Linked DNA regions of Homo sapiens: regions 1, 2 and 3 are each linked to region 4. Evidence: promoter capture Hi-C in 16 types of primary human blood cells and fetal thymus (Javierre and others, 2016). All regions are on one chromosome and are shown on one strand. The core of a region is centred on a gene start or on the middle of the fragment in contact, and the rest is flanking DNA. Distances in the headings are between cores, read along the strand shown. Region 1 overlaps OSBPL11 (oxysterol binding protein like 11). Region 2 overlaps SNX4 (sorting nexin 4). Region 3 overlaps SNX4 (sorting nexin 4). Region 4 holds the start of ITGB5 (integrin subunit beta 5).

What was found. The method cuts DNA at HindIII sites, captures the fragments that hold promoters and counts their contacts. A CHiCAGO score of 5 or more calls a contact.
Region 1: a contact is called between a fragment that was not itself captured here and the fragment with the promoter of ITGB5 in region 4, in 1 of 17 cell types (fetal thymus). The highest score is 5.2, in fetal thymus.
Region 2: a contact is called between a fragment that was not itself captured here and the fragment with the promoter of ITGB5 in region 4, in 2 of 17 cell types (total CD4 T cells and naive CD4 T cells). The highest score is 6.0, in total CD4 T cells.
Region 3: a fragment that was not itself captured here is called in contact with the fragment with the promoter of ITGB5 in region 4 in 6 of 17 cell types (activated CD4 T cells, fetal thymus, total CD8 T cells and 3 more); the score reaches 9.0 in activated CD4 T cells.

Annotation. Positions count from the first base shown.
Region 1 is chr3:125,559,881-125,565,235 of GRCh38, forward strand. OSBPL11 (oxysterol binding protein like 11) reads right to left here. Exons shown (of 13, transcript NM_022776.5): 7 at 3,818-3,963; 8 at 499-639. Among named protein-coding and RNA genes, the nearest start is that of OSBPL11, 33 kb to the right of the region's middle. The HindIII fragment of the contact is 1,533 bases long and covers 3,167-4,699 here.
Region 2 is chr3:125,472,389-125,477,269 of GRCh38, forward strand. SNX4 (sorting nexin 4) reads right to left here. Exons shown (of 14, transcript NM_003794.4): 8 at 4,307-4,368. Among named protein-coding and RNA genes, the nearest start is that of SNX4, 45 kb to the right of the region's middle. The HindIII fragment of the contact is 220 bases long and covers 2,512-2,731 here.
Region 3 is chr3:125,449,540-125,454,359 of GRCh38, forward strand. SNX4 (sorting nexin 4) reads right to left here. Exons shown (of 14, transcript NM_003794.4): 12 at 4,271-4,416; 13 at 1,766-1,880. Among named protein-coding and RNA genes, the nearest start is that of SNX4, 68 kb to the right of the region's middle. The HindIII fragment of the contact is 4,100 bases long and covers 1,164-4,820 here.
Region 4 is chr3:124,883,587-124,888,914 of GRCh38, forward strand. ITGB5 (integrin subunit beta 5) reads right to left here and starts at 3,779. Exons shown (of 15, transcript NM_002213.5): 1 at 3,345-3,779. The coding sequence starts at 3,414. RefSeq lists silencers at 1-110, 3,168-3,257, 3,718-4,157 and enhancers at 1,619-2,503, 4,272-5,154, 5,155-5,328. The HindIII fragment of the contact is 6,734 bases long and covers 730-5,328 here.

The DNA of each region.
Region 1 (5,355 bases), core at 2,683-5,182, 680 kb after region 4:
TGGCCAAGAAAGCCATTTTTTATGAAAATAAAAAATACTGATCAGGAGACTAAAAAAAAAAAATCATAAAAAATAAAAATCACAAAAAATAAAAAGACCGGCCAGGTGCAATGGCTCACGCCTGTAATCCCAGCTCTTTGGGAGGCCGAGGTGGGAGGATCACGAGGTCAGGAGCTCGAGACCCGCCTGGCCAACATGGTGAAACCCCATCTCTACCAAAAATACAAAAAATTAGCTGGGCATGGTGGTGGGCACCTGTAATCCCAGCTACCCAGGAGGCTGAGGCAAGAGAATTGCCTGAACCCAGGAAGTGGAGGTTGCAGTGAGCCGAGATCGCACCATTGCACTCCAGCCTGGGCAACAAGAGCAAAACTCCATCTCAAAAAAAATTAAAATTAAAATTTAAAAAGTAAATAAATAAAAAGTCCTGACATAAACATGAACAATTACTGGTACAGCCCTTAACAATCTCCATAGCCAGCTTATGCCATTACTTACTCTTGTTAAATCCATGCCCAGCTTAAGCTGTGACAAGAGATGTAGGATGACACTACGTTGTTCTTCTACAGCTCCCAGGTCATCCTCTTTGTGGTCACATGTATCCTCTATCTCATCATCTGCATTTATTTCTTCAGGCTCCTTGATGGAAAACAAAGCAAAAGTCTAGTATTTTAACTACCTATTCATATCCATTGAGAACAAAACAATAAATATCAGACTTGAAGACATTTGTATTTGACCTAAGTGAATCTGAGTATGGGCAAAAATCTTTCAGAAATACAACTATTTGTCCATGGTATAAATTTCCTTCAGAGAGCCCCATTATTGCTGATGTTGAACATATTGCAGTTTTGCCATATATATCACATAAGAACTATTTTTCTTTTTTGGGGGGAAAATAGAATTTTTCAAAAAGAGTGAAGAATGTCTCCTCCAGCCTCCAGAGTCGCTGGGATTACAGGCATGCACCACTGCATCCAGCTCATTTTTGTATTTTTAGTAGAGATGGAGTTTCACCATGTTGGCCAGGCTGGTCTCAAGCTCCTGACCTCGAGCGATCCACCCGCTTTGGCCTCTCAAAGTGCTGGGATTACAGGTGCCCACCACCATGCCCGGTCCCTTAACTGCTTTTTTCTTTTTGAAACAGGGTCTTGCTCTGTTGCCTGGGCTGGAGTGCAGTGGTGTTAGCTCACTACAACCTCCACCTCCTGGGTTCAAGCGATTCTCCTGCCTCACCCTCCCAAGTAGCTGGGACTACAGGCATACACCACCACACCTGGCTAATTTTTGTGTTTTTAGTAGAGATGAGGTTTAGCCATGTTGGCCAGGCTGGTCTCAAATTCCTGACCTCAAGTGATCCACTTGCCTTGGCCTCCCAAAGTGCTGGGATTATAGGCATGAGCCACCACACCCGGCCCCTTAATTGTTTTTTATACACATTTATAATCACATAACCTCCTCTCTTGTAAAATTTACATGTTTATAATTATACTAAACCTTTTTTCTCAAAAGACTCTTTCTTCCTAATTTTCCTTTGTGAATGACAATACAATTTTATCTAACCACTGAGAGTCAAAAACTTGGGACTTGACTTGATCCAAACCTATATCCAGTCAGTCACAAATCCAATTGATTTTTCATTTGAAATGCACATAATCTATTCATTTGCCTTCATGTCTACTTCCATATCCTTCTATTCACATTTTATTCCAAGTCGTATCATGTACCAATCTTCTTAAACATAGTACATTCTTACCCATGATCATGACGCTATTGTCATTAAGACTAAACCCTTCTGCATTATTTTTATGTTATTTGGAGGCACAATTTACACTGCATTCTATGGAGCAGTGCTCCTGGAAGCTTCATTCCACAGAGTACAACATGAATAGTGCCATTCAGAGTTGTAAAATCCAAAAATACTGTGATCATTTCCCATAAGCCAGGTGTTCTACTAAATTCATTTTATCCTCATAAGGATCTTACAAGGTAGTATATTATCCCTACCTTACCGATGAGGAAGTTGAAGCTAAGAGTGGTTAATTAATTGGTTCACATGTCAGTGAATGGCATATCCTGGGTTCAAAATTACCAGGCAAGCTTTCTCTTCAATAAACACACATGCCTTAGGATCCTTGCTAGTGTTAGTCCTTCATCTTGAGATTCCCATTCTCTTCCTCCTCCCTTCAAATCCTGTCTCCTTTCAAAGCCCAATTCCAATCCCACTTTCTCCCCAAAGCATTTCTCATGTACCCGACTCAATATGTCTTCTTCCTTTCTCTGAATGCCCCTATCCCAATAGCCTACATGGTATCAATTAAGAAAAAAATATATTGCTTTATATTATCATCTCATTTTAGTGTATATGTTGTGACTCCAAGCAGATTATAAGTCTCTTCAGTGAAAAACCTGTATCTTCTAATTTTTGCTTCTCCTCTAATTCTTAGCATTGTACTTGCCATATACTAAGCTTAATAAATACTTACTAACTGCTGTTTCTACAAATAAGCCAGTCAAACAGCTACAGAGAAATAAGCATTTTATACATTATTGTTTTTTCTTCTCCCCTGCCAACCCTTGCCTGCAATGCCTGTCTTATCAAGCCAAAACTTTTGCCAACTTTGGAAGTCCCTGTGCCATATATTTCTTTAAAGAAGTAATTTACGAATATATAAAGTACCATAAACTATGCATTACTCTTGACTCAGTAATGCTACTTGGTAATATAACTTAAAGAGATAACCTAAGAAAAAAAATAGGAGAAGGCCGGGTGCGGTAGCTCACACCTGTAATCCCAGCATTTTGGGAGGCTGAGGTGGGTAGATCACCTGAGGTCCAGAGTTCGAGACCAGCCTGACCAACATGGAGAAACCCCTTCTCTACTAAAAATACAAAATTAGCTGGGCATGGTGGCGCATGCCTGTAATCCCAGCTACTAGGGAGGTTGAGGCAGGAGAATCACTGGAACCCCGGAGGCGGAGGTTGCGGTGAGCTGAGATTGTGCCATTGCACTCCAGCCTGGGCAATAAGAGCGAAACTCCATCTCAAAAAAAAAGGAGAAAAAGTTGGAAACAAGATAATAAAGTGTTATTTATAATTAAAAAAAAAACCCTCCAAACAATCTAGATATTCAACAATAGGGACATTAACTCAATAGACTATTTCAAGCTTTAATTATACAGACCAGTACAACATAGGAAAATGCTTATCAAGTAAAAATAGCTTAAAATAACAGATGTGAACACAAAAGGCAAAAATATCAATATGATTTGTTACAGTGGTAGATTATGAATAGAATAAAACACTCTTCAGCTTCTAAGAAATGTGAAATGAATAATAGTTTATAAAAATATAAACCCTAAGATTATGTGCTATTTTAAGTAGGGTAATACTTGAAACAACTGGCTTGGTAAAGTGCTTACTATGAAAAAGACTCAACTTTTAAGATTATAAACTTAATAATAAATAATGTTAAGATAATAGGTTAAGAAACATAAGAGACAAACATTGTGCAAATCTCATTAGATAAGTTATTTTCTAGAAAAAGAAAAACATAAATTTCAATTTTTAAAATATATTTTTATCAAGCAAAAGTAAACTAAAAGTTAAAAGGGCATATAATTTAACCTGGAAAATTCAACAAGTTTAATATAAGAGACCTCTTCAAAAACAATGCAGTTTAAAATGTTTTAGAATCTTCAAGAGTGTTGCTCAGGTGTTAAGTTGATGTGCATGAGCTGACAATGAAAAGAAAACTGACCCTTTTTCAGTGATACCTAATTTTTCACATCAAAATCATATTTTTATATTACCTTACCCTCGCTAATAGTCCAGATTCTGCAACAGGCTGCTCTTCTGGGACTGCCACCGGCTTACTCTGATCAGTTGCAAAGGGCTGGTCAGCTCCATTTTTATAGTGGTTTGATAAAGATATCTTTGGTTCTAACCACTCGATTGTCGTTCCTGATGGAGTAAGAGAAAACTTTCGCTGAAACTTGCTCATAATCTAGAAAGTTCGGCAGATGTGGATTTTAACAATTTTGTTTTGAGCCTACAAGCCTAAAAGCAATTAAACCTGTTAAGAGACCCTGCAAGACAGCCACTTATATCTCATTAGCATGAGCACCATGATTGGGTATTTTACAACAGAGCAACTTGCAACTTGATATCAGATACTATTTAAAAGAAATCAACCCTGAATAGGACTGAATTTACTTCTTGGACAAGTCTGTGAATCACGAAGTATATTCCCAACCTAACAGTTGATTTGTTGTCTTTGTCCCTCTACTGATTAAAAAATATGCAATTAGGCTTTAGAGAGGCACAGCTACAGGAGGAGTCTGGGACTGTGAAACAGTAAGATTTGTTTCAATTTGGGATCGAGTCTTACTCTCAGCAACAATTGTCTAACCAATCAAAATAATCCCCCGGATCTAATTTAAGAATTGCAAATACATGTCCTTTTTCGAAATCATTTTTTAAAAAGCCCCATACAACTTAAACTGAAAGACTCTTCTACTGAATAAATAATAACTGACCCAGTGAAGACAGTGGTCACATTTGGAGACCTGTCATCTTCTCGGTTAATGATTCAAATGTCTCTTGTTACCCTCGACTAGTTTAACAAAGTGGATTCTATGCCTAATCAATAATGGAAAATGTTCCATTTGATTTCAGTTGCTGATCTAGGTTTCACAGAAGCTTGGTTATAGAGTGCTATAATAAGGGATGCTCAGACTACTACAGCAGAAATGTAGGAGTAGGAAATGTATTATCCTTTTTTTTTTTTTTTGAGACAGAGTCTTGCTCTATTGCCCATGCTGGAGTGCAGTGGTGCAATCTCAGCTCACTGCAACCTCCACCTCCCAGGTTCAAGTGATTATCCTGCCTCAGCCTCCCGGGTAGCTGGGACTACAGGTGCTCACCACCATGCCTGGCTAATTTTTGTATTTTTGGTAGAGACGGAGTTTCACCATGTTGGCCAGGCTGGTCTTGAACTCCTGACCTCAGGTGATCTGCCTGACTCCGCATCCCAAAGTGCTGGGATTACAGGCGTGAGCCACCATGCCCGGCCACAAATGAAATTTAGTATTTAATTAATCAAGTATTTATTGAGCATCTAATATCTAGTGCTGTGTTACTTGACATACTTTTAAAAAATTAAGTAAGCCTGGGCAACACAGACAGACTCCATCTCTACAAAAACTAAAAGGAATTAGCCAGCCATGGTGGCATGTGCCTGTAGTCCTAGCTACTTGGGGGGCTAAAGCAGGAGAATAGCATGAGCCTGGGAGGTTGAGCTGCAGTGAGCCATGATGGTGCCACTGCACTCCCGCCTGGGCAACAGAGTGAGAA
Region 2 (4,881 bases), core at 1,372-3,871, 590 kb after region 4:
CACATTCCGAAGTGTTGCCTTCATCAGTGCTTCTCAAGCTGGGATGTTTTCATCATGGATATTGGAAGCCATATAATAGACATGGCACACTCTTTCTGAAGAATAAATTTTACTTAAACATTAGTGGGGAAAAATAAACTTTTAAAAATAAATATTAAAGTATCCATACAATGTAGATTTTGCATGAATTGATAAAACTCAAGCCTTCAGAGAGTTCCTGCACTTGGTACAGCTGCTTCTGGCCAATGTCATGTGAATTGGTGAAGGGAGGTAAAGGAGGTTTTGCAGTAGGACAAGTTTAAGTATTATTGGCACCCCTCCCTCCAATCCCCCAAAAGAGAATTCTCTGCACTGTTTGAGACAGACTGCCCAATGTCATTCCCCTCAATCCCCACAACCACACAATTACACAAACTTGTTCTCAAAAAAGATACCTACTTCACGGTGCCTTCTACAACTCACCTCTCCCCTGCCTTAAGACAGCTCTGCACCTTCCCTATCTTCTCCCTTGTCCATGCTCCTATCCCTCCCCTGTCCACCATCCCACCCCAGCCCCAGCCTCTTCTCAAAAAAGTCTTATTACCCTTCAAAAATAACCACAGTTCATCTTTTTCCTCAGGCACTTTTGAAAAAAAAAAATTCAACTTTTATTTTGGACTCAGGAAGTACATGTACATGTGCAGGTTTGTTACATGTGTACACTGGATGGTGTGAAGATTTCAGATACAAATGAGCCCATCACCCACACAGTGAGCACAGCGCCCAATAGTTAGTTTGTCAACCCTTGTCTCCTTCCACCCTCCCTCCCCGCTCTGGCAGTTCCCGGTGTCTACTGTTGCCATCTTCACATCCATGAGTAGGGACTTTCTTAAAAGACTAATCAATAACTTGCTGTCTTTCCTTCCTTAATCCTTTCCTCTTATTCCTAGATCACTAGGACATAACATCATACCACTTAAACTGCTTTCCAAATTAACACCAAAGATGTACTTACCCATTTTCCCCCTTCTCATCTAAACTCAATTCTCTTTTTTGTTTTTTTTTTGAGATGGAGTCTTGCTCTGTCACCCAGGCTGGAGTGCAGCAGCACAATCTCGGCTCACTGCAACCTCCACCTCCTAGTTCAGGCAATTTTCCCACCTCAGCCTCCCAAGTAGCTGGGATTACAGGCACACGCCATCATGCCCGGCTAATTTTTGTATTTTTAGTAGAGATGAGGTTTCACCATATTGGCCAGGCTGGTCTTGAACTCCTGACCTCAAGTGATCTGCCCGCATCGGCCTCTCAAAGTGCTGGGATTACAGGCATGAGCCACTGTGCCTGGCCTAAATTCAATTTCTCTACAGTATAACTCCAAGCATTATTGAAGTGTTCCCTTCACTTGCTTGACTTTGAATACTCCATGTTCCTCATCAATTTCTTGCCTGATCCCTGAACGCAGATATTCCCTTGAGTCTCTTGTAGACTTGCTCTAACCCTCTAATATTATCAACTAACTCTATGTTTTAAAAAATCACTCTATAAGGACACACTTTATATATACAACTCATATTCTCACTAGCTTCTTAAATTCCTGATCCAAATTTCTAACTGCTTAATAAAAATCTTTAGTTAGAATGCAATTTATCCACATGAGAACCCTCAACCTCATCCCTCAAACCCACCATTCCACCTACATTCTCTATCACAAATCCTTAGGCACTCAACTGCCCTAAATTAAATCTTGGTATTCTTGGCACCTACCATGGTAACAGGAGCTCAGTTACCGTATGCTGAATGACTGAAAAAAATCCACTGGTAAGTCTATCATTTAGGTCTCTTTATTCTTCACTGGCAACTGCTGTAGTTCAGGTCTTGATTAAATTACCTCAACCACCTCTGGTCTTTCTGGCTCAGTTGTCGTAAGATGTTTTTATTTATTATCTATTTTTGTTTTTATTTTTTTGAGAGACAGGGTGTTGCTCTGTCACCTGGGCTGGAGTGCAGTGGTGTGATCATAGCTCACTATAACCTTGAACTCCTGGGCTCAAGTGTTCCTCCCATCTTAGCCTCCCAAGCAGCTAGGACTATAGGCATGTGCCACCATGCCTAATTTTTAAACTATTTTTGTAGAGATGGGGTCTTGCTATGTTGCCAAGGCTTGTCTTGAACTCCTGGCCTCAAGTGATCCTCCTTCCTTGGCCTCCCAAAGTGCTAGGATTACAGATGAGAGCCACCACATCCAGCCTCATGAAATTTTTTAAATGTAAAGTGGCTTTCTAATAATTTATTAAGCTGGCAAAAAAAACAAACCTGTACAATATTTATCATGTGGCATTAATGCAAATAATTTTCTTTAAAGTTTGATTCAACCAATTGATCTTTTGTCTACCTGCCTCTCAAATTAATTAAAAAGTTCATTTATTAACTATAATAAATGTGCTACCTTTGAGAATGTTTAGTTTATGTTAATTCCCCCCCACATGTCTCCTATGGGATATAATTTTTGTTTTTAAATAAGCATTGTTCCCAAGCTTAATTGGGTTCCAGTTTGAGTAATACTAAAAATTAGAGATGACTTGTGCATAAAACTAAAAGCAATTAATATTAAGTCAGACAGTATGAGGTAGACTTCAAAACGTATAATACTATTTGTCTTTCTTCCCATTATACTATTCTTTTACAGTTGACCATATATTTTCATAGACCCTGGTCCTAGTTATGAAGAGTTTACATTTTTATAATATCAATAAGCTTCTTTTAATTAAAAAAGTCATATAACCTTGATCTGTCTCAACTGACATTTAATTTTAATGTATTGATCAACCAAAGACATATGGATAACCTACTACTCTAATAAATGAATTAAATAAATTTAAATCTCTATCTCACATCTTACATTCAAATAAATTATAGCTGAATCAAAAATTTATGAAACCACAAAATACAGAAGAAATGAGAATTTTTTTTCCCACCTAGAACCCACCACCTGAGAAAAAATTTTTTTCATTTTTTGAGATGGAGTCTCACTCTGCCGCCCAGGCTGGAGTGCACTGGTGTGATCTCAGCTCACTGCAACCTTCACTTCCTGGGTTCAAGCGATTTTCCTGAGTCAGTCTCCTGAGTAGCTGGGATTATAGGAGCCCACCACCATGCCTGGCTAATTTTTGTATTTTTAGTAGAGATGAGGTTTCACCATGTTGGCCAGGCTGGTCTCAAACTCCTGACTTCAGGTGATCCACCCGCCTTGGCCTCCCAAAGTGCTGGGATTATAGGCATGAGCCACCACGCCTGGCTGAGAAAATTTTTTAATAATCCGAAGTAGGGGACCAGGCATGGTGACTCATGTCTGTAATCCTAGCACTATGGGGGGCCGAAGCCAATGGATCACCTGAGCTCAGGAGGTCAAGATCAGCCTGGGCAACATAGTAAAGTCCCATCTCTGCAAAAAAATACAAAAAGTAGCAGAGCATGGTGATGTGTGTCTGTGGTCTCAGCTACTTGGGAGGCTGAAGCAGGAGGATCACTAGAGCCTGAGAGGCAGAGGTTGCAGTGAGCCAAGACCTACACCACTGCACTCCAGCCTCGGTGACAAAGTGAGACCCTGTATTAAAAAAAAAACCGGGTGCAGTGGCATACACCTGTAATCCAGCATTTTAGGAGGCCGAGGCGGGTGGATCACGAGGTCAGGAGTTCAAGACCAGCCTGGTCAACATGGTGAAATCCCATCTCTACTAAAAATACAAAAAAATAGCCAGGTGTGGTGGCAGGTGTCTGTAATCCCAGCTACTTGGGAGGCTGAGGCAGAGAACTGCTTGAAACCAGGAGGCAGAGGTTGCAGTGAGCTGAGATTGCGCCACTGCATTCCAGCCTGGGCGACAGAGCAAGACTCCATCTCAAAAAAAAAAAAAAAAAAAAAAAGGGCTGGGTGCAGTGGCTTATATCTGTAATCCCAGCACTTTCGGAGGCCTAGGCAGGCAGATCACTTGAGGTCAGGAGTTCGAGACCAGCCTGACCAACACGGTGAAACCCCATCTCTACTAAAAATACAAAATTAGCCCAGTGTGGTGGCGCATGCCTGTAATCCCAGCTACTGGGGAGGCTGAGGCAGGAGAATCACTTGAGCCCAGGAGGCGGGGGTTGCAGTGAGCCGAGATCACATCATTGCATCAGCCTGGGTGACAAGAAAGAAACTCCATCTCAAAAAACAAAAACAAACAAAAAAAGAAATAATCTTCTCTCCACACTCATAAATGTTCAAGAATTATTGTTTTCAGGCAAAAAGGTAATTAAAGCTAATTATTTTTAAAGTTTGTATGATGCTTACCTGAAAACTCGACCATAATTCCCATGTACTTTATATACACCATAGAGTCGATCTGCTACTCTCTGAAATAAATATTTAATAGAAATTGCTTTTAGGTCAAAGTTATATCCTCATCTAAAAAATAGACCCAAAAAACAAAAAACATGCTTACTACAATAAACTTGGAAATAGAAAAAAGAAAAATAGTAATCTCCAAAAATCCCATCCCCCTAAAACTAAAACCAGTGCTCTTACCATATTTATCATATCTTATACTTTTGTACTTCTTTTTCTGCAAAGTTTTTAATTACTGTTTTTAAATTGCCTACAGCAAGAGTGGTAATATGCTTACCCATCAGGTATTTAATAAATACCACTATAAATAGTTGCATAAAATTCCACTAAGTAGTATATAAGACATACAAGCATTCCTTGTTGAATAATCTTGTTGGGATTCAGTTATTCTTAATTTTTCAGTATTATAAAAAGTTATCTCTGAGAATAAGCCTTTTTCCCTCAGATTGTTTCCTTATAATAAAATCCCCAAAGTGGAATTAACCAAGGGAACGGATACATTTTCAATTCTATTGAGATAT
Region 3 (4,820 bases), core at 1,964-4,463, 570 kb after region 4:
TAAAAATCTATATCACTTAGGCAAGAAAACAAAACGACAAAATTGCATAGTACCATTCTTGGGAAACAAGGTGAACATAAACTCTTATTAAACTTTTTGTTTTACTAGTTATCTAAGGATTTGTGAATAAACCTACAAAATATCCAACAGTATGTCCAAATACAGCTATAGTAGTATCTTTTATATTCACAGATTAAATTTCTAGCACCCTCAACCACTGCAGCCTAAACAAAACGGAGGGGGAAAGTCCTTTGAGACATTATATAAAGGTCTTGCACTTTACTTTGGAAAGAAGTGAATGAGAGATCACAAGGAGCTTATTAATGAGTCTTTTACAGGAAAAACAAAAAAACTAAAAACCTTTGTTATCTGGTCTTTCAGATTTCTTGAGGTTAAAAAGTTAGATTGGAAAAAGGACTGTACTACTGGGTGTGGTGGCTCATGCCTATAATCCCAGCAATTTGGGAGGCCAGGGCGGGAGGACTGCTTGAGCCCAGGAGTTTAAGATCAGCCTGGGTGACACAGTAAGACCCCATTTCAACAAAAAAAGAAGAAAAAAGAAAAAGACAATGGATTGTAAATATCTAGCACCTAGCTGCAGGCAAGAAGAGGTGACAGAATGAAGGCAAAAAAAAGATAGAGATGCTACCAAACTACAACATACTCAACCTTTAGCACCTGCAGACTCAACAGTCACGATCTAAACTTGTTTTAAGTGACTCCAAAGATCCACGGTATACAGTAACTTATAATTCACTGAGCATAAATATGAATTTGTCCAAACCAAATGGAGCCCACTTAACCAGTGAGTGCGTATGGTGTTTATGCCTCAAAATATCTTTGTTCTCTCAGTGATGGCCCACAGCCAAAAAATAAAATTTTGGGACAAACTAAAGCATAAGAATTGTATATATATTTATATGAGTGTGATTTTGCCCTATAAATGTGAGAATTCATCTTACCATGTAATTTACTGAGATAATGCATGTAAAAGTGCTTGATAAATTATGACAGGTGATACAAATCAAAGCACTGGTACTGGTAGTCACACTGGCAGATCTTAGGTTATAAAAAAGAGGTTAAGGAATGTTTCCTATTTTGTTCTTAAACCAACGTTTTAGAAAGTCTTCCATCATTGTCAAACATTTATTTTAACTAGAATAAGCTTCAATGTTTGTATCTTTCACTATGGATATCAGCAACACAAATGATTTACTTTATGAGGAAGCATATCATAACCAGGTCTTCACGAAATAATGTTCAAGCTATTTTCCAATCAAAGCATATACCTGGAATGGTATTTTACTGTCTGGTCCAAGAGTACCATATGATCTAAATAATCTTGGTATATATTCTCAAATACAAGTTATAAATGGAGATACAAATTTGGACTTTAGATGAGTGGAGACTCAGTAATGGGCATACTGGTTGTAACACCAGTAGAGGCTGGACATGGTGGCTCGCACCTGTAATTGCAGCACTTTGGGAGGCCGAGGCAGGAGGACTATATGAGGCCAGGAGTTCGAGACCAGCCTGGGCAACATAGCGAGACCCCCCCATATCTATTTTTTAAATATTTAAAATTTTAAAATAAAAAAACCAAAACAAAATAAAACAGAAATCCTACAAAATTAAAATAGAGAAATTGGTAAACATTCTACAAGAGAAGAATAAAAATGAAAAATTTTTTGGTCAGGTAATTTAAATACATGTATAAGCACTTCTGAATATACATATATCTTCACTGAAACAGGAAAAACCCTACCTTTTTGCACATACTGATCTGCATGACTGCATAGCTTATGAGGGCCTCCTTTAAGTCTCGGTTCTTTTGTTCTTTGAAGCGTTCAATATCAGCCCATGCGTTTTTCACAAATTCTCTGAAATAAAAGGTATAGCCATTATTATTATTTAAGTTAAATAAACTGTGTACTAAAAAGTTAACCAGTTCTCATTGGCGTTGGTTTTTAATTGCCTATGTAGAAGGAAGAGTTATTGCTTGTATAAGACAGTTTTTTTATTTTCCTAAAAATTATAGTTAGGGAAAAAGCAAACAGACAGTCATATATTCTTGTACCTTTTAATCTACTTTTTCTTTTTTTTTTGAGACAGAGTCTCACTCTGTTGCCCAGGCTGGAGTGTAGTGGCGTGATCTTGGCTCACTGCAGCCTCTGCATTCCGGGTTTGAGCAATTCTCCTGCCTTAGCCTCCTGAGTAGCTGGGATTACAGGCACACGCCACTACGCCCAACTAATTTTTGTATTTTTAGTAGAGACAGGGTTTCACCATGTTGGCCAGGCTGGGCTTGAACACCTGAGCTCAGGTGATCTGCCCACCTCAGCCTCCCAAACTGCTGGGATTACAGCGTGAGCCGCTGCACCTGGCCTAATAATCTAAGTTTTTGCCACAAGGATTCTACCTTTAAATTATTCCTATAAAATACACATAGATGACTCCTTAAGCCAGCTCACAAACCTAACAGGTGTCAGTCACAATGAAGTAAGTGCCTTCCAGGGGTCACTGGAAAATATACACTCTTTTGACAAGATGGATTATGAATCACGTTTAGCATTTTTTTTTTTTTGAGACCAAGTCTCGCTCTGTAGCCCAGGCTGGAGTGCAGAGGCGTGATCTTGGCTCACCACAACCTCCACATCCAGGGTTCTTGCCTCAGTCTCCAGAGTAGCTGGGATTACAGGCACACGCCACTGCACTCGGCTAATTTTTTGTATTTTTAGTAGAGACAAGGTTTCACCATGTTGGCCAGGCTGGTCTTGAACTTCCGACCTCAGGCAATCCACTCTCCTAGGCCTCCCAAAGTGCTAGGATTACAGGTGTGAGCCACCACGGCCAGCTGCATGTACTTGTTTTAAATCACAACCAAAGTTTAAAAACTTTTTTAGCCAGGCTTGGTAGCCGGTAGTCCCAGTGATTCGGGAGGCTGAGATGGGAGGATCACTTGAGCCCTGGACTTTGAGGTGGCAGCGAGCAACAATGGCACCACTGCACTCCGGCCTGGGCAGCAGGGTGAGACTCCGTCTCAAAAAAATGAAAAATAATAATAAAAATTAAAATCCCGAGAGGTATTTGTTTTTGGAGACAGAGTTTCACTCTGTCGCCCAGGCTAGAGTGCAGTGGCGTGATCTCCGCTCACTGCAAGCTCCACCTCCCAGGTTCACACCATTCTCCTGCCTCAGCCTCCCGAGTAGCTGGGACTGTAGGCGCCTGCCACCGCGCTCGGCTAATTTTTTTGGTTTTTAGTAGAGACAGGGTTTCAGCATGTTAGCCAGGATGGTCTCAAACTCCTGACCTCATGATCCACCCACCTCAGCCTCCCAAAGTGCTGGGATTACAGGCATGAGCTACCGCGCCCGGCCTGTCTTTTTTAATTCTATCTATTACTTTGCCATATTTGGTGCTAGTAGTTCTAAAAATGAACAAAACCACCTCAAAACCCAAAATACACTCTTGGTCTGCCTTGGTCTATTCACTGACTGTCAGATGAAAACAAAAATAAGAAAAATGAGTCAAACAGTGATAGTGGGTCTCTGAGAACTGAATTTCTAGAAATACTTATGTAACAATTACATGCTAAGCCCTATGTAAGGCACTGGGATGTGAATGTGGAAAAGATACAATCACTGACTTTGAAGGGCTTAAATTTAGCCAGGGATAGTCACACAGAACAATCAATCATCTAATACAAAACTGCCATACCATACTGGCATGAATTAAATGCCGTGATAGCCTGAGAAGGCTTCACAATGAAGTAACACTTCAGCTGGGTACTGAAGGAGGGGAGGGGAGAAGAAATGGTGGAGGGAAAGTACAAAGGGTAGAAATCAGGAATAGTGCAGGAAAATAATATTATGAAGTTGAAACTTTTATTTCTCTTTCCCCCACATTGAAACAACTGTTTCTATAACATTATTTTTGATAATTCAACTTTCTTTTATTTTTATTTATTTATTTATTTATTTATTTATTTCTGTAGAGACAGGGTCTTCCTACGTTGCCCAGGCTGGTCTCAAACTCCCAGGCTCAAGCAATCCTCCCACCTCAGCCTCCTAAAGTGTCAGGATTACAGGCGTGAGCCACCACACCCAGCGTGATAACTCAAATTTCTTAGGAATGCATTTTAAAGGAATAGGCTGTATTCAGGGATGCCAATGAAGCTGGGAATTGTTACCAAAATAAATAAATAAATAAATAAAATAATCTACCATATAGTCTACAAGCCTAGCTTACTTAAACATCGCAGCATCTTTACCTGCCTTCCAGATTTTTAGACTTTAGCTGTTGTTCTCCTTCATTTATTTGTTCTTCTAGCACCTTTATTCTGGCTTCTCTCTGCTCTGGAGTTTCTTGACCAAAGAGCTTGGTAGTCATTCCCTTCAAAGAGAATGTTCTCACAGTCTAAAAGGAAACAGAAACAGATGAATGGATAAACAAAATGCGGCATACACATACACATACAATGGAACATTATTCAGCCTTTAAAAGGAATCAAATCTGATATATGCTACAACATGGATAAACCTGCAGGACATTATGCTAAGTGAAATAAGACAGATACAAAAAGACAAATACTGTATGATTCCACTTATATGAGACACCAGTGTTTACACTGTATTAGGTATTAATAATCTAGAGATAATTTAAAGCAGGGGGTCCCCAACCCCAGAGCCACGGAGTGATACCAGTCCATGGCCTGTTTGGAACCAGGCTGCATAGCAGGAGGCAAGCGACCACCTGAGCTCTGCCTCCTGTCAGATCAGCAGCAGAGGCATTAGATTCTCTTAGGAGCACGAACCCTATTG
Region 4 (5,328 bases), core at 2,529-5,028:
TAGGGGGTTGGGGGTAGAGGAAGGGTGCTGCCAACATGAGTCCACTAAATAAAACAAAGGGCTTTCTTAGGATGTGCAGAGCATTCACTAGAAGAACATTCGATTGCTTTTTTAAAAAGAAATGAATGTGATAGCACACATAATTCCAGCGGTGTTGCAGGATCCTCTTTATAAGACGGTGTTCCTCTCTCTGTCTTAGCAAAGGCAGCGTGGAAAAGCCTCACCTCAGTGAGACCCCTGGTTTTGTGGGAAGACCACATCCTAGGATTCTGTCTGAAGGCTCTTGGCCATAAGATAATAAAAAGAGCAGGAGATAGCCCTTGGTGGGGACGGGAGGGGGTTGTCAGCCGGCCAGGGACTTGTTTGAAATGAGCCCCTGAAACCTAAGGTCAGTTTCCTGCTGGAAATCCGTACTGAGATGAAAGTGGGGTTAGAGCAACAGAGAGAGGCACTCAACCACTGGTCCAGGAACACCCAGGCAGGCATGGCCCTGAGGGTCATCTCTTTCTTTTCTCTGAGTAACTAGGTTTTTTTCTTTCAAATAATGTTCCTAGTGGCAAGACAGAAACACTCCCTGAATAAAGTACCTGTAGTGCTTCAAGAAAACAAAGAAGGGAAGGGAAGCAAAAAAAAAAAAGAAAAAAAAAAAGAATGTTGAAGTTAATTCAGCAACACTGAAAAACTAGGAGAAATGACACAGATGTGAGTCAACCTCTGCTAATCCTGAGAAGCTTCAGGGCCCTAAGAGGTAAGCAGCAAGTTCTGGAGGCCAGTGCCATGGCTTGCTCCACCACCACCACCACCAAAACCTGTAGTCAAAGAGATGGGCAGAGGCCAGCCGTGGTGGCTCACACCTGTAATCCTAGCATTTTGGGAGGCCGAGGCGGGCGGATCACCTGAGGTTGGGAGTTAGAGACCAGCCTGACCAACATGGTGAAACCCTGTCTCTACTAAAAATACAAAATTAGCCAGGCGTGGTGGTACATGCCTGTAATCCCAGTTACTCAGCAGGACAATCACTTGAACCTGAGAGGCAGAGGTTGTGGTGAGCTGAGATCATGCCACTGTACACCATCCTGGGCAACAAGAGTGAGACTCTGTCTCAAAAAAAAAGAAAAGAAAAGATAGGCAATGGGAAAACAGGACCCCAAAAGAGTTGCAAATGAACCACCATGCTCAGTGCTTTTCTCTTCCTTAAGCTGAGTCGGTAGGACAAAGGGCACTGGACCAAAAGCCATGGTCCCTGGTCCACCACTCCTGACCCAAGTAGAGGGGAAGGGCAAGTCACTTCCTTCCTGAGCCCATATGAGAAAATGGACATCACCGTGAAGATGTACGTGAACTCTGAAAAAGAGAAAGCAAGATGCAAGTGGAAAATAATGTATTTTTAGAAATTATTCGCAGCCAGGCGTGGTGGCTCATGCCTGTAATTGAAGCACTTTGGGAGGCCAAGGCAGTTAGATCACCTTAAGTGAGGAGTTCAAGACCAGCCCAGCCAACATGGTGAAACCCCATCTCTACTAAAAATACAAAAATTAGCCGGGCATGGTCGCAGCGCCTGTAATCATTGCTACTTGGGAGGCTAAGCCAGGAGAATTGCTTGAACCTGGGAGGTGGAGGTTGCAGTGAGCCGAGATGGCACCACTGCACTCCAGCCTGGGCTACAAGACTGAAACTCTGACTCAAAAAAAAAAAATTATTTGCAACTAGAAATTATTATTATAATTCTGTTTGTCAGAATTACAGAATGTCAAGCTGGAAAGGAACTTAAAAGCCATCTCCTTTGGCAGTTTCTGAACTTTTGGATTTCAAAGAAAACTAAGATTTAAAAACAAAACAAAAGAAACAAACAGAAAAAGAGAAGGGGAGCTTAACATAGGGTTGTCAGATTTTCTTATTTTGCCAAAATTAAAAACTACTAATATTATTAAGAAGTATTAAAAGAAAATGTTCCCACCAAAAAAAGAAAAAGTGCCTAATTTCAAACTAAAGGAAAGTCCTTGTGGAGCAGGGGAGCGTTGACAACAATACATTCCTGTGTGATGCAGGCTACATCTTCCTGCTCCTCGCTTTCCCTAGGGACCCATGAAAATATCCGTGATGGGCACTGGCTGCCGGATGGGTGTTTGGAATCCACTCATCTACTCTCCAAGCTCTGGAGTGATTATTTTCCCATTTAAAACAAAAACCAAAAACCTTGCTACAGTATTAAGTTTGAATTAGGGTCTGAACGAAGTTATTGTTTGCTCAGACCCCTCCTCCGCTCTTAAACCTAAACCTCCACTGCCTTCATGTAAATGAGACACCGTGGGGGAACAGTCCTCCCTTCGGGCAGCCAGGCAACCACTTGGCTCACAAGAGCAATCAAGTATCTCCGGCTTGAAAGTTAATAGAGCACTATTATTTCCTAAAAGAAAGGAGAAAATCCGCATCCCAAACAAGTGCATCCTTCCTCGAGGGCCTCCAAACTACCACGTCCAATCATCTCCCAACTCTGAAAAGTTAGAGCAGGTAACCGAGGGATCCTTGCAACGCTGCCAGCCCACCGCAGCGTCGGGCTAAGGCAATCTCCACAGCCCCTGTCCTCTGCTCCAGAATCCTCCACAGTTAGGGGAGTGTGAGGCTCCGAGCGTGTGCAAATCGCGGGATAAAGTCGGGCAGAAGGAATTTAATAGGGAAGTCCCAGGTGGGGCTGTGGTTTGGGACGCGGGTGCCCCCTCGGGTTTGCGGTGGCCTAGGCGAGGAGGAAGCAGGCGGGGGGCGGGGAGGGTGGGGGCTGCATCTTCAAAGGCAGGCGGCTAGCCTAGGCGCAGCGAACTCCAGGATTCGCTGTGGGCCCTGTGCACCCGCTGTTCCAGGAGGCGAGCCCTCCGGAGTGGAGGTGGCCCCGGGCTTTGGCTGGGGTTTCGAGACTCCCTTGCTTCTCCGGGAACAGGGCACCGACGGCATCCCCCCAGCAGCCCGCCCGCTCCCGGCCGGCCACAAGGACCGCTTTGTGCCCGCCAACGGAGAGCCCGGGCCCCAAGGCAGGGCTGGCGGCGGTCCTCCCCGTGCCCTGGGCGCGGGCCCTGGCGGGCTAGGTCAGCAGGCCGGCCAGCCTGTTTACACAGGAAGGGAAGCTCCTCCTCAGCCCGGGAGGGAACAGGAGACTCACGACAGCCCGGCGGGGCTGCGCGCGGGGAGCGCCCCGCGGGGCTGTCCCCCAGCGACTGGCCCACCAGGGAGTGCCCCGAAGGCGCCCTCCGCCCTCAGGCACCGCCTGCGCTCCCCGCCCCTCCGAGACGCCCGCCCGCGGCTGAGTGTGCGACAAAGTTTCTCTGGGCGCCGTGGGCGGCGCGGCTTACCTGCGAGCCGGGGCAGGAGCGCGCAGAGCCCCAGGAGGCAGGCGTACAGCGGCGCCGGGGCCCGCGGCATGGTGGGGCGCCTCCCTCAGCGGCGGCGCGGTCGCTGCACTCCGCGGGGGCCGGCGGCCGGGGCTGGGGCCGGAGCGCGGGGGCCGAGGGCCGGGGGCCGCAGCCGCATGCCCCGCGCGCAGCTCCGGCTCACGGCGCCCGCGCTGGCCCGCGCCCCGCCGCCACCATCCGTCCCGCAGCACTCACGGCCGAGTCCCGGGACCGCGGCTGCCCTGGCTGGCCGGCCGGGACTCCTAGTGTGTCGCCGCTCGGGACGGCCCCAGCGGGCTGCTCCGGGTAGGGGAGGGGCTGGCTCCGCTCGGCGGCCGCGACTTGGGCTCCGAGACGCGCCCAGCGCCGAGACTCCCCCGCGCGCCGGCACACTCTGCCCCTGGCCTCCGCCCCTTCCCTTCCTCCCTCCGGCCCGCCAGGCTCCACTTTCCTCCTCTCCTTTCTCCTCCCCTTCTCTCCCCTGCCAGGCCCTCGCCCGGCCGCCACACGGTCAGCTTACGGTGAGGCGGGGCGGGGCGAGCTCCGGGCCGGGCCAGCTCCGCCCTGTGCGGGGACCGGCCCGGGACGCGGAGGCCCTACGGGCCCAGGTGGAAGTCGCTTGCGACTCACTTGGGGCGTGGGGGGCTCGAAACCACTGAGTAGAGCCCGCTCCCGTTGCTTAGCCGCCCGTCGCCACGGGAAAGGGGCGGGGCACGCTGTATTAGGCGAGCCGAGATTACTTGGGCCAAAGGCGGTTGCTAGACTGCGAGAGGGAGAGCAGGTACGGGGGTCGTGCCGGTACCGCCTCATCCTCCCAAAGCCTCACTGCCGGCGGCCTGAGATGGGACGTAGACGCCCGCGCGTGGAACCGCAAAGCGACTTCTGGATGAGCAAGGGAGGGCGTGGTGGGGCGTGGAGGCACAAGTAAAACCTACATTTCTTTTTCTTTTCTTTTTTTTTTTTTTTTGAGACAGCGTCTTGCTCTCACTCAGGCTGGAGTGCACTGGCCCAGTCTTGGCTCACTGCAGCCTGGACCTCCTGGGCTCAAAGGTTCCTCCACCTTAGCCTCCTGAGTAACTGGGACTACAGGCGCGCGCCACCACACCCGGACAATTTTTACATGTTTTGTAGAGATGGGGGTCTCGCTGTGTTGCTCAGGTTAGTCTTGAACTCCTGGGCTCAAGCATTCCTCCTGTGTCTGCCTCCTAAAGTGCTGAGATTACAGGTGCGAGCCACCGTGCCCGGCCCACTTTTCACTTTTTAACTTTTGCACCTTTCAAGGATTTGAGACTGGCCAATATGCCGCTATATTTCGTTGTCCTTACTGATAATCTGTCAGTTTCCATGATCAAACTGATAGACTCAAAAACATATGCTCAGGCTTTCATCTTATCATTTACATATAAGCTGGATCTGAACTAGCCAATAAAGAGTGGGGTGGGGTCTTCCTCAGATGGTGCAGGAAAGGATGCCTTGGGCTTGGATTCGCTACAAGTGCGTTTAGAGTGGAGTGGTTGATAGGCAAGAGAAGAGGCGACATTCAGGTAGGGGAAAATAACGATAGAATACCTACCAAGTACAGAGAGCACACTGCCAGCCAGGCACTGTTCTAAGTCCTTTACCCATATTAACTCATTTCATCCTCCGACAACCCTACTGTTATCCAGTTGAGGAACCGAGGGACAGAGGGGTTAACTGCTGGAGGAAGTGACAGCTAGGATGCCTCGTTCAAAAGTGCAGCATGGCTTGGCTAAAACTGAAGCAGTAAGGGGGAAAGAACAAAGGGGTCTCACCTTTGCAGGCCAGGGACCTGGTGGAAGAATGGCTTGGAGGGCCCAGTGGAAAACTGTCCTAACTGCCCAGCTCAAGGAGTTTGGATGTTAACCTTTATTTCTTGGCCTCCTCCCAAACTCTAACAAGGTGGTGCCTCAATGCCTGAGGAAGT